2 separate regions of the Homo sapiens genome follow, and region 1 is linked to region 2. Evidence: promoter capture Hi-C in 16 types of primary human blood cells and fetal thymus (Javierre and others, 2016). All regions are on one chromosome and are shown on one strand. Each heading gives the region's core, a stretch centred on a gene start or on the middle of the fragment in contact. The rest is flanking DNA. Distances are from core to core; before and after follow the strand shown. Region 1 overlaps APBB1IP (amyloid beta precursor protein binding family B member 1 interacting protein). Region 2 holds the start of MYO3A (myosin IIIA).

Region 1 (5,693 bases), core at 587-3,086, 620 kb before region 2:
GACTGGGAAGCCCCGCTGGACTGCAAAAATGAGTGAAACCGCAGTTGGACGGTAAGGGGATGGTTTCCCCTGACTATGTTGCCCCTCCCCTGAGCCACTGCGGTACCCACACATGGAAAGTCCCCCCGGACTCACACTCAGGTTTCTTACCACACTGGGTCCTTCTGTGGGAGGCTTGCTTCTGCATGGGCCTATGGAGAGCACTGTGAGTACCAAGTACCAACGGGGCTGAAACACGTGAGGCCAGCAAGGGACAAAGAGAGGGAGTGGGGCTAGCAGCAGCCAGGTGGACAAATTTGGCAGTGGCTCACCTTCCCTGCCAGATGTGATGATACACCAGATGGGCTGTTTATGCTGTGCTGTGGGAGGCATGGTCCACAGAACCTCTGGACCTGAGAGCCTGACCGGCTTTCCCACACCATCCAGTGGGCCCTCTGTGGGTCTCCCAGGGCCCATGCAGTTTGAACAGTGTATCCTCGGCAGAGTTAGTGTAGGATTCGGGTCTAACCTGGACTTAGGAGGCCCTCTAGTGCTGAAATGACATACAAAAGTCAATCTGCTCACAATTTCTGCATACGCCCACTAAAAAAGAACGGTCATAAACAAATCCAGACAGGGAAGACTGAAATAAATACCTAACTCAACAATGCAAAGACAGAGCCCAATGTCTACAAGGAGTAAGAATAGCCTAGAAAACATGGTCTCACTAAATGGACAAAAAGAGGTGCCAGCTATCTGGCAGACAAAGAATTCAAAAATAGCTGTTATAACAAAACTCAGCAAACTTCAAGAAAACACAGAGAAGCAATTCAGAAATTTATCAGAAGCATTCATCAGATAAATAGAAATAATTAAAAAAACAAACAAATCCTAGAGCTGAAAAGTATAACAAACAAAATGAAAAATGAAACAGAGGACATCAACTGCAGAATTGATCAAGCAGAATAATCAGTCAGCTTGAAGGCAGGCTATTTGAAAATACATAGTCAAAGGAGAAAAAAGGAAAAAAATGAAAAGGAATAAAGAAAAAATTACATGACCCATGGGACATCATCAAAAGAGCAAATCTACATGTAACTAACTTTAAAGAGAGAGTAAAGAATGAAAAGGGATAGAAAGCTTATTCAAATAAATAATAATAGAAAAGCTTCCAAATCAGAAGAAAGATACAAATATCCAGGCACAGGAAGGTCAAAGGTCACCAATCAGATTCAACCTAAATAAGAATACTCCAATATATATCATAATCAAATTCTCAAAGGTCAAAGACAAAGCGATGCACCTGAAAGCAGCAAGAAAAAAAAAGCAAATAACACATAAGGGAATTCTAATATGCCTGGCAGCAGACTTAGCAGAAACCTTGCAGGCCAAGAAAGAGTGGGACAATATATTCAGAGTGATGAAAGATTAAAAAAAAGATTAAAAAAAAAACCAAGAATACTGTACCCAGAAAAGCTATTCTTCAGAAATGAAGGAGATAAAGACTTTTTCAGCCAAAGAAAGCTCTCAAATAAACAATCTAATGATGCATCTCAAGGAACTAGAAAAAATAAGAACAAACTAAACCCCAAATTAGTAGGAGAAAAGAAATAATAAAGATCAGAGCACAAATAAATGAAATAGAGATTAATTTCATTCATTTGAAAAAGAAATATTAAGGCTAAAAGAGGCTAAAACACAAATATTAATAAAACAAAGAGTAAGTTTTTTGAAAAAATAAAATTGAGAAACCTTTAGCTAGTCTAAGAAAAAAAGAAAGATGACTGAAAGAAATAAAATGAAAGATGAAAAGAAAGACATTACAACTGATACTACAGAAATACAAAAGATCATAAAAACTACTATAAATAATTACACACTAGCAAAATGGAAAACCTAGGAAAACATGACTAAAATCCTAGATGCATATAACCTACCATGATTGAAACAGGAAGAAACAGAAAACCTAAAAAGACCAACAATGAGTAATGAAATTGAAGCTGTAATAAAAAGTCTCTTATCAAAGAAAAGCCCAGGACCTGATGGCTTCACTGCTGAGTTCTAGAAACATATAAAGACTAATTCTTCACAAACTATTTCAGAAAATTGAAAAGGAGGAAACTCTTCCAAACTCATTCTATGAGGCCTACATTATCCCAATTCCAAAACCAAACATGGACACAACAAAAAAGAAAACCTTCAGGCCAACATCCCTGATGAACATAGATACAAAAGTCCTCAAAAAAATACTAGCAATCCAAATTAAATAGCATATTTAAAAGACCATTCATCATGATCAAGTGGGATTCATCCCAGCAATACAAGGATAGTTTAGCATATACAAATCAATAAATGTGACACATCACATTAACAGAATAAAGATTAAAAACCAAATGCTTATTTCAACAGATGCAGAAAAAGCATTTGACAAAAATTCAGCATCTCAACAAATTAGGTATAGAAGAAACATACTTCAACGTAATAAAGTTTATATATGTTAAACCCACAGCCAACATCACCCTGAATGGGAAAAAATTAGAAGCTTTTTCCCTAAGATCTCAAACAAGATAAGGATGCCCACTTTCACTGCTACTATTCTGCATAGTACTGGAACTCTTAGCGAGACCAACTAGGCAAGAGAAAGAAAGAAAAGGCATCCAAATTGGAAAGGAGGAAGTCAAATGGTCTCTGTTTGCAGACAACATGATCTCATATGTAGAAAATCTCAAAGACTCCACCAAAAAAACTGTTAGAACTAATAAACAAATGCAGTAAAGTTTCACGATAGAAAATCGGCATACAAAAATTAGTAGCATTTCTATTCAACAGTAGCCAACTATCTGAAAATCAAGAAAGCAATCCCATTACAATACCTACACAAAAATAAAATACCTAGAAATAAATTTAACCAAGGAGGAGAAAGAGCTCTATGACGAAAACTATAAAACAGTGATAAAAGAAGGTGAAGAGGATATAAATGGAAAGATATCCCGTGTTCATAAATTGGAAGAATTAATATTGTTATAATGTCCATGCTACCAAAAGTAATTTACAGATTCAAAGCAATCCCTTGAACAATGAGAACACATGGACACAGGAAGGGGAACATCACACACCGGGGCCTGTTGTGGGGTCGGGGGAGGGGGGAGGGATAGCATTAGGAGACATACCTAATGTTAAATGACGAGTTAATGGGTGCAGCACACCAACATGGCACATGTATACATATGTAACTAACCTGCACGTTGTGCACATGTACCCTAAAACTTGAAGTATAATAATAAAAAAAAATTTTAATGTCATACTTCACACAGAAATAGAAAAAAGCAATCCTCAAATTTATGTGGAAACACAGACTCCAAATAGCCAAAGCAACCTTGAGCAAAAAGAACAAAGCTGGAGGAGTCACAAACTGATTTCAAAATATACTACAAATCTATAGCAGTGTGGTATTGGCATAAAAACAGACACATAGACCAATGGAACAAGATAGAGAGTCCAGAAATAAATCAATGCATTTAGAGCCAACTGATTTTCAACAAAGGTGTCCCCCACAAAAGAAAAAGAAGAAGAAAAACAAACCAAAAAAGTCACATTGAGGGAAAGATAGTGTCTTCAATAAACAGTGTTGGGTTAACTGGATATCTACATGCAAAGCGTGTAACTTGACCCCTATTTCTCACCATAAACAAAAATCGACCCAAAATAGATTAGTTAATATATGACCCAAAACTGGCCGGGCGCAGTGGCTCATGCCTGTAATCCCAGCACTTTGAGAGGCCGAGGTAGGCGAATCACCTGAAGTCAGGGGTTCGAGACCAGCCTGGCTAACATGGTGAAACCCCATCACTACTAAAAAATACAAAAAAATTAGCTGGGAGTGGTGGCGCGTTCCTGTAATCCCAGCTACTCGGGAGGCTGAGGCAGGAGAATTGCTTGAACCCGAGAGGCGGAGGTTGCAGTGAGCTGAGATCATGCCATTGCACTCCAGCTTGGTCAACAAGAGCGAAACTGTGTCTCAAAAAAACAAAACAAAACAAAGCAAAACAAACAAACAAACCAACAAAAAGAAAGACCCAAAACGGTGAATCTGCCTAGCAAGGAAAACAATCAACAGAGTAAAGAGACAACCTACAGAATGAGAAAAAATATTTGCAAATTATACATTTGACTAAGGGTTAATAAGAAGAATATATAAGGAACTCATATAACTCACTAGCAAAAAACCCAAATAATCCAATTTTTAAAAAATGGACAAAAGACGTGAATAGATATTTCACCACAGAAGACATACACAGGGCCAATAGGAATTTAAAAAATGCTTAACATCACTAACCACCAAGGAAATGCAAATCAAAACTACAATGAGATTTTGCATCATCCCAATTAGAATGGCTATGATAAAAGGACAAAAAATAGCAAATGCTGACAAGGATGTGGAAAAACAAGAACTCTTATGCACCATTGGCAGAAATGTAAATTAGTCTAGCCATTACAGAAAACAGTATGGAGGTGCCTCAAAAAACTGAAAATACATCTACCATATGATCCAGTATTTCCACTGTTGGGTATATATACAAAGGAAATGAAATCAATATGTCAAAGAGACACCTGCCCTCTCATGTTTATTGCAGCACTGTTCACAATAGCTAAAATATAGAATCAACCTAAATGCCCATCAGTGGATGAATAGGTAAAGAAAATACAAAAATATTTAGATTCCACTCATATGTGGAATCTAAAAGAAAATGATTTCATAGGAGTTGAGAGTAGAATAGTGGTTACTAGAGACCGGAGAGAATGGGGAGAGAGGCTTGTCAATGAGTACAGTGTTATAGTTAGGAAGAATAAGTTCTGGTACACTACTGCAAGGTAGGGTGACTATAGCTAACAATAATGCATTGTATATTTCAAACAGCTAGAAGAGAGGATTTTATGATAAACGTTTGTGCTAATTACCATGATTTGATGATTACACAATGTTTACATATATCAAAACATCACATTGTGTGTCATAATGTACAATTACTATGGGTTAATTAAAAAATAAATGAATAAATACAAAGGCAAAAAATAAAAGCAAATTTCTGGGCCCAATCCCAGACTTACTAAATCAAAAACCCTGGGGGCCTAGCAATGTGTGTCTTAACAATCTAAATGGTTCTGATGCATACTAAAGTTTGAGAACCACTGGTTAATAAATAGATTTATTTAATACCAGAGGGCAATAATAACTACCACTTACTAAGTGCTGATATGTTTCTAGACATTGCACTAATGATTTTGTAGGCATATCATATTTAATTATCAAAAGAAGGGCTGGACGCTCTCATCTCTTGAAGATGTGCAGTGAGGCTTAGCATCTTATTAGTGACCCAGTTACTAGGTGACAGGGCCAGGACTCAGACGCCAATCTTTCTGACAGGACCTTTCATGAACAGCCATAGTCATCAAGCTCATATTGAAGAATAAACTTTAGCCTGGCCTTATCAGGCCATGAAATCATGCAATCTTTTTTTTTTTTCTTTGAGACAAAGTCTCACTCCGTCGCCCAGGCTGGAGTGCAGTGGCGTGATCTTGGCTCACTGCAACCTCCACCTCCCGGGGTTCAAGCGATTCTCGTACCTCAGCCTCCTGAGTAGCTAGGATTACAGGCGCGTGCCACCACGCCCAGCTAATTTTTGTGGTTTTTTTTTGTTTGTTTGTTTGTTTTT
Region 2 (5,670 bases), core at 131-2,630:
TTCGCACTTTTACACAATGAACAAGGAACTTAAAGCCCCTCATTTCATATGCTGGCATTAAACAACTCTCAAGCTACCAGATCCGTCTGAATTATAAAAATGCTTAAGAAGGTTTAAGTGCACCTGTACAATTAGTTAATTCACCAAGAAAACTAGAAACAACCAGAAATGAAGATTCTTTTGAGTTTTCAAAAACGCTTAGTGTGTAGGGTTCAGTGGCATTACAACAGTCATTTCAAGGCTTATGGCCAATTTCCATTCTAACAATAATAAAATTTTTTTTCTGGAAGGGGGATAGTAGCAAGGTGCGAGTTAGCAACTACTTGGAGAACAGAACAGAGCTGTTGGTGAGCAGACTTGAAAGGACATCCTTTCCTGGTAGGTTTCTCTATTTCTCAATAATGATCATACTTTTCTTGTCTGCTCTTTCTCCTTAAAATTAAAACTCCTTTACGGATGCATTTGGGGTTGCAGGGAGCCCAGCTCCACCGACCTGCTTGTTCTGAGAAATCACCCGGAACGCAGTTCCCTCAGGGACGGGCCGACCCAGCGCCACCTGTGGGCGGCGCCGCAAAGCCCGCGCGCGCCACAGGTCTCCGAGGCGACACCCGCCAGACTCGGCGCCTCCTCCCTCCAGTCTCCCTGCAGGGCCCCCTCAGTTCTCGCCCCTCGTTACTCTTCGAGGTCCTCCCCTTACGTTTCCTTCCCAAGTTCACCCCTAAAGATCTTCCTTCACCCCTTACGCCACCCTTCCCGTTCCCTCCTCCTGTTTCCACTTCACGTTCACCCCTCCCGTTCCCTCCTCAAGTTCATTCCTCACGTTCCCTCCTCGAGATCCCCCCTCACTATCCCCTCGCGTTCCCTCCTCGGGTTCACCCACAAGATCTTCCCTCAAGTCCACCCCTCAGGTTCACCCTTCCCGTTCCCTCCTCCTGGCTCCCCCTCGAGTTCACCCCCGCCCCCGTTTCCCCCTCAAGTTCATCCCTCTCCTCCCCTCGAGCTCTCCCATCCAGCTCGTTCAAGCCTCACATTCCCCCTCTTGGTTTCCCGCTCTACTTCTCCCCTCGAGTCCCCTCTCTCACCCCAGGCCCCGACAAACACACAGGTCCTCCGGATCTGACCTGGGCGGGCGGGCGGTCGCGGCAGCCTCGCGCTCAGAGAGCCCCGGGCCCGCCCTGCAAGCCCCGGGGTCCAAGGAAGCGGGGCCGTTTCCAGCGCCGCGCGGGCGCCGCTACCCACCGCCGCCCCAAGCCAGTCCCCTGCGCTGTCCCGACACGTACCTGGGCGGGAAGCCGGGCGCCTCCTTATTTCTTTACGGGGGCGCTGGCTACGGGCGCTCCCTCGAGGGGCGGGCAGGGGCAGCCGAGCAGGGGAAGAACTGGGCCGCCTGTAGAGGGCGGGCCGAAGGTCGGCGGGAGGATCTGACCTGGGTCAACCGAGCCGAAGGGGCCCCTTATCCCGGCTCGCGGGGAATATTCTTCCTCTCGCCGCTCTCTCCACTGCCCGCAGGTGGAGGCCGCGCCATCCGCGCCATCCACATCCTCGCAGGGCCCTTGGCTGGCTGCCGAGGGGCTTCCCGGGACTCCGGCCGCGCTTCCTTGGCCCGGAGCCCGGCGAGAAGGGAGTGGGGCCCCTGGATCCTGGAGCCCTCATGGACTGGCCCAGTGCCTGGAGCAAATTCTGCTCCCGGCCCCGCGTAGTATCTTCCTCCCAGGAAATTCCCCACACTACGAGGGTCTCGGACCCGGAAAATGTAATGGGTTTCAGGTCCAAGAGGGATAGTGAGTGGCTAATGAGATCGCTCCCAGGGTCCAGTTCCCTTTTGCAGACTGCTAAGGAGTTTGGGGCTGGGGCTGAAGTTAAAGGCAAGAACTTCTACCCTCGGGAGGCAGCCCGTTAGTCACCAACCCTCTACTTGGTCCTTTGCAATCCTTTCCAGACCTTCTGTGGTCTCCTGTCACACAGGGCTCACCTGGGGGGACCCTGATGGCCAGATTCTCTTGAACAGTCTCTAGGGACATATTGGGTATTGCTATACCTTCATCCATTGAACAGGTGAGAACTACAACCAAAACATCCTTTGATTCTGTTAATTATCTCAATGGGTCTGTCGTTCATGTTATCTAAATGAGAATTATAGAAGAGACCAAAGAGAGGTCATCTAATCCTAATCAATGCATATCTTAAGGAAAAAATGTGATGTTAAAAATCTGTTTCAAAAGGTCATTCAGTATATTCAAGACCCTTCCTCTTAAAGTAGCTTTAAAATTTAGAAATTGGGCCGGGCGCGGTGGCTCACGCCTGTAATCCCAGCACTTTGGGAGGCCGAGGCGGCCGGATCACAAGGTCAGGAGATCGAGACCATCCTGGCTAACACAGTGAAACCCCGTCTCTACTAAAAAATACAAAAAAATTAGCCGGGCATGGTGGCAGGCCCCTGTAGTCCCAGCTACTTGGGAGGCTGAGGCAGGTGAATGGCGTGAACCCAGAAGGCAGAGTTTGCAGTGACGGAGCCGAGATCACGTCACTGCACTCCAGCCTGGGCGATAGAGCGAGACTCCGTCTCGAAAAAAAAAAAAAAAAAAATTAGAAATTGAATAGTGGACTTGTAATAGGGATTATATTGAATCAAAAGCCTAACATATATGAACAGCTTCAAATCAAGAAGTTATCTCATCAAAAACAGATCACAGCAAATATATTATTCAACATAATTATGGCCATTTGGACATACCTGGGAGATTTTAAGAATTAGAGCAACTGAGTGCTCACATGCAAAATAAAGTCACAATCTCAATAGAGACAAACAACACCCAATTAAAATACAATAGAAAAATAGATCCCATTCACAATAGAAGCATGAAAGAACATGAAATAACTAAGAATGATAAAAAATGAGAAATATAGGAGAAAAGTGGGAAAAAATTTAAAAATGCAGGATTGTTGACAGACTATTTATAATTGGAAAGACACTGGAATCCTAAGTTAGAAGACAAGATGTTAAACACATAATTACTACCTCCCAAATTAAGAGACAAATATATTCTAGAATTCATATGAAAACTACAGAAGCTAGAAGAGCTAAGTCCAGTGGTTCTCAGAGTGTGGTCTAGGGGAAATTTGTTGGGGGTCAGGGGGCGGTCTCTGAAACCATTTCGGGAGGTTCACAGGACCAAAATTACTTTAATAATAAGACTTTTTTCCACTCCTTTTTCTCTCCCATTTTTTAAATGAATTTATGATGAAGTTTTCCAGTGGCTCCATAATATGTGATATCACAACAGATTGAATGCAGAAACAGGTAACGTCTTCTGTTATGCCAGACATTAAAGAAATGTGCAAGAATATAAAATAATGCCATTCTTACCATTAAACTTTTTTGGTTTTGGAAAATACAGGTATTTTTCACTTAAAAATATGCTATTCATGTTAACATGTAATGAGCTTAGTAGTGAAATATATTTTTAAAATTTCTCAGTTTTAATTGCTATAACATAAAAGTTCTTTGGAGTCCTCAAAACTTTTTAAGAGTGTAAATAAAGGAAGGTTCTAAGACAAAAAAAATTGAGAACTTTTTTTTTTTTTTTTCTTTGAGACGGAGTCAGTCTCACTCTGTTGCCAGTCTGGAGTGCAGTAACACGATCTCGGCTCACTGCAACCTCCGCCTCCCAGGTTCAAGTGATTCTCCTGTCTCAGCCTCCCGAGTAGCTGAGACTACAGGCACCGCCACCATGCCCAGCTAATTTTTGTATTTTTAGTAGAGACAGGGTTTCACCATGTTGGGCAGGATGGTCTCGATCTCCTGACCTTGTGATCCACCCACCTCAGCCTCCCAAAGTGCTGGGATTACTGGTGTGAGCCACTGCCTCCAGCCCTGAGAACCTTTTGATAAGGCAATGAAAAAAGAAACATGTAATTAAGCTATAATAATGAAAAGAATGGCATTAACACGGAATAGAATAGTGTGTCCAATCCAACCAGCCTAAGACCATCAAGGACAAAACCTGCAGTCCCACAAAGTCAGGTTCATTGACTCAATGTTACAGTAGAGATACTGCAAACTAGAGGAACCATGAAGTGGAGTTTTGATAGGCTCAAAGCAAAGCAGAGCTGGGAGTCAACATGAGGTTTGGGCTGTGACCAAGGGTTCTGTTTCCTTGGATAAATGTGGAATGCTGTCTTGGGAAACTCCTTATCTGAAGCTCTGTACTTGAGTTGTAAATCGGGGCCATGTCTCTGTTGTCAAAGTGAGTTAGATCCTACAAGCAATTATGGGAGGTTTCATTTTTACTGACATAATTTCAAAAATCAAATTTTCTGATAGTCTATGAGCATAGGAAGCAAGATTTTCCAATGAGTTAGAAAGAAGTAGTCACTCAAAAAAGGGGACTGTTGTTGACATTTCACAGCACAGCCTGCCCTTGGAAGAAGCATGGTGTCCTGTTCATCTTACACCTGGCAATATCAACTTTTTTTTTTTTTTTAAGTTTTTGTTTTTCCTTATGTTGCTCAGGCTGGTCTCAAACTCCTGGGTGCAAGAGATCCTCTCATCTCAACCTTCTGAGTATCTGGGACTACGGGTGCGTGCCACAGTCCAGCCTCATTCCAGTTTTAACCGACTCATCTACTTCTTGGCAAAAAGACTCAGAGAAAGCAGAACTGGGCCGAGCAAGGTGGCTCATGCCTGTAATCCCAGCTACTCAGGAGGCTGGGGAGGTGGAGCAATCTCAGTGAGCGAAGATCGCGCTTCTGCACTGGATGACAAAGCGAGACTCCATCTCAAAAAAAAAAAAAAAAAAGAGAGAGAGAGAGAAAAAAAAATGAGTGCACTTGCCAGGAGCAAACTTCCACCTTGTAGACTAATGGCGTCTCATCAGTTAGCCCAGCACAAGTGACCCAGTGATCTGGGAGATCAATTAAGGGAAGAAAGATTGCTCATTCCTGCTTTCTGAGCTTCATAAACCCTACCTTGTGATATTTGTACATGAACTGCAGCCCAATCAAATTAGTTCTCAAATTTAGCCTTATCTCTCTATTCTGCTGATATTGCCTTATTTAGGCCTTCGCCATCCTAGAGTATTCCAGATGTTTCCTAATTTTTCTACTGCCTTGCCCTCTCCACTTTATAATAAGTCAAATCAAATATATTACTCAAGCCCCTTGTAGGAAGACTCCATGCATTTATGATTATGCCTGGGTGGTGACCCTCTCAGGCAAGAAAACAGAGTAAATCGCCTTTAGGTCTAAAAGTTCTCTCTTTTAAAAGTGCAAACTTTCTTTTAGTGCATTATTTCATTTTATATGCATAATGTCCCTCTTTAATGGAAATACCTGTAAGGTAGGTGTCTCTATTTACTAATAAGGAAACTGAAGGGAGGAATCAATGATTTCTCAAAGGCCACCATCTTAGTAATCACCTCTTTATCACACTAAATTCCAAAAGTTACCACCTCTGTAAATGCTCAAATTAGAGTTTGATTCTCACAGAGCTATCAAGGATGAAAACATGATGCTTCAAATGATCTAAACCCCACTGAACTAGCTTCCCAGTGATGGGCCAAGAATGGGCTTCGGCCTTCCTGTGTCCTAAGGACTTTCTTAGGACTTTCTCTCTTTTCTGTATCCACATTGAATTCCCACTCCCTTTTATACTTACTGAACCATTATAAT

Evidence for each region. The method cuts DNA at HindIII sites, captures the fragments that hold promoters and counts their contacts. A CHiCAGO score of 5 or more calls a contact.
Region 1: a contact is called between a fragment that was not itself captured here and the fragment with the promoter of MYO3A in region 2, in 1 of 17 cell types (endothelial precursors). The highest score is 5.8, in endothelial precursors.

What each region holds. Positions count from the first base shown.
Region 1 is chr10:26,545,765-26,551,457 of GRCh38, reverse strand. All of the region lies in intron 11 of APBB1IP (amyloid beta precursor protein binding family B member 1 interacting protein), which reads right to left. Among named protein-coding and RNA genes, the nearest start is that of LINC03028, 31 kb to the left of the region's middle. RefSeq lists an enhancer at 2-391. The HindIII fragment of the contact is 1,374 bases long and covers 1,150-2,523 here.
Region 2 is chr10:25,929,939-25,935,608 of GRCh38, reverse strand. It overlaps MYO3A (myosin IIIA), which reads right to left and starts at 1,380. Exons shown (of 35, transcript NM_017433.5): 1 at 1,281-1,380. It overlaps LOC101929073 (a long non-coding RNA gene), which reads left to right and starts at 1,899. Exons shown (of 4, transcript NR_120650.1): 1 at 1,899-2,055; 2 at 3,248-3,301. The HindIII fragment of the contact is 8,280 bases long and covers 1-5,670 here.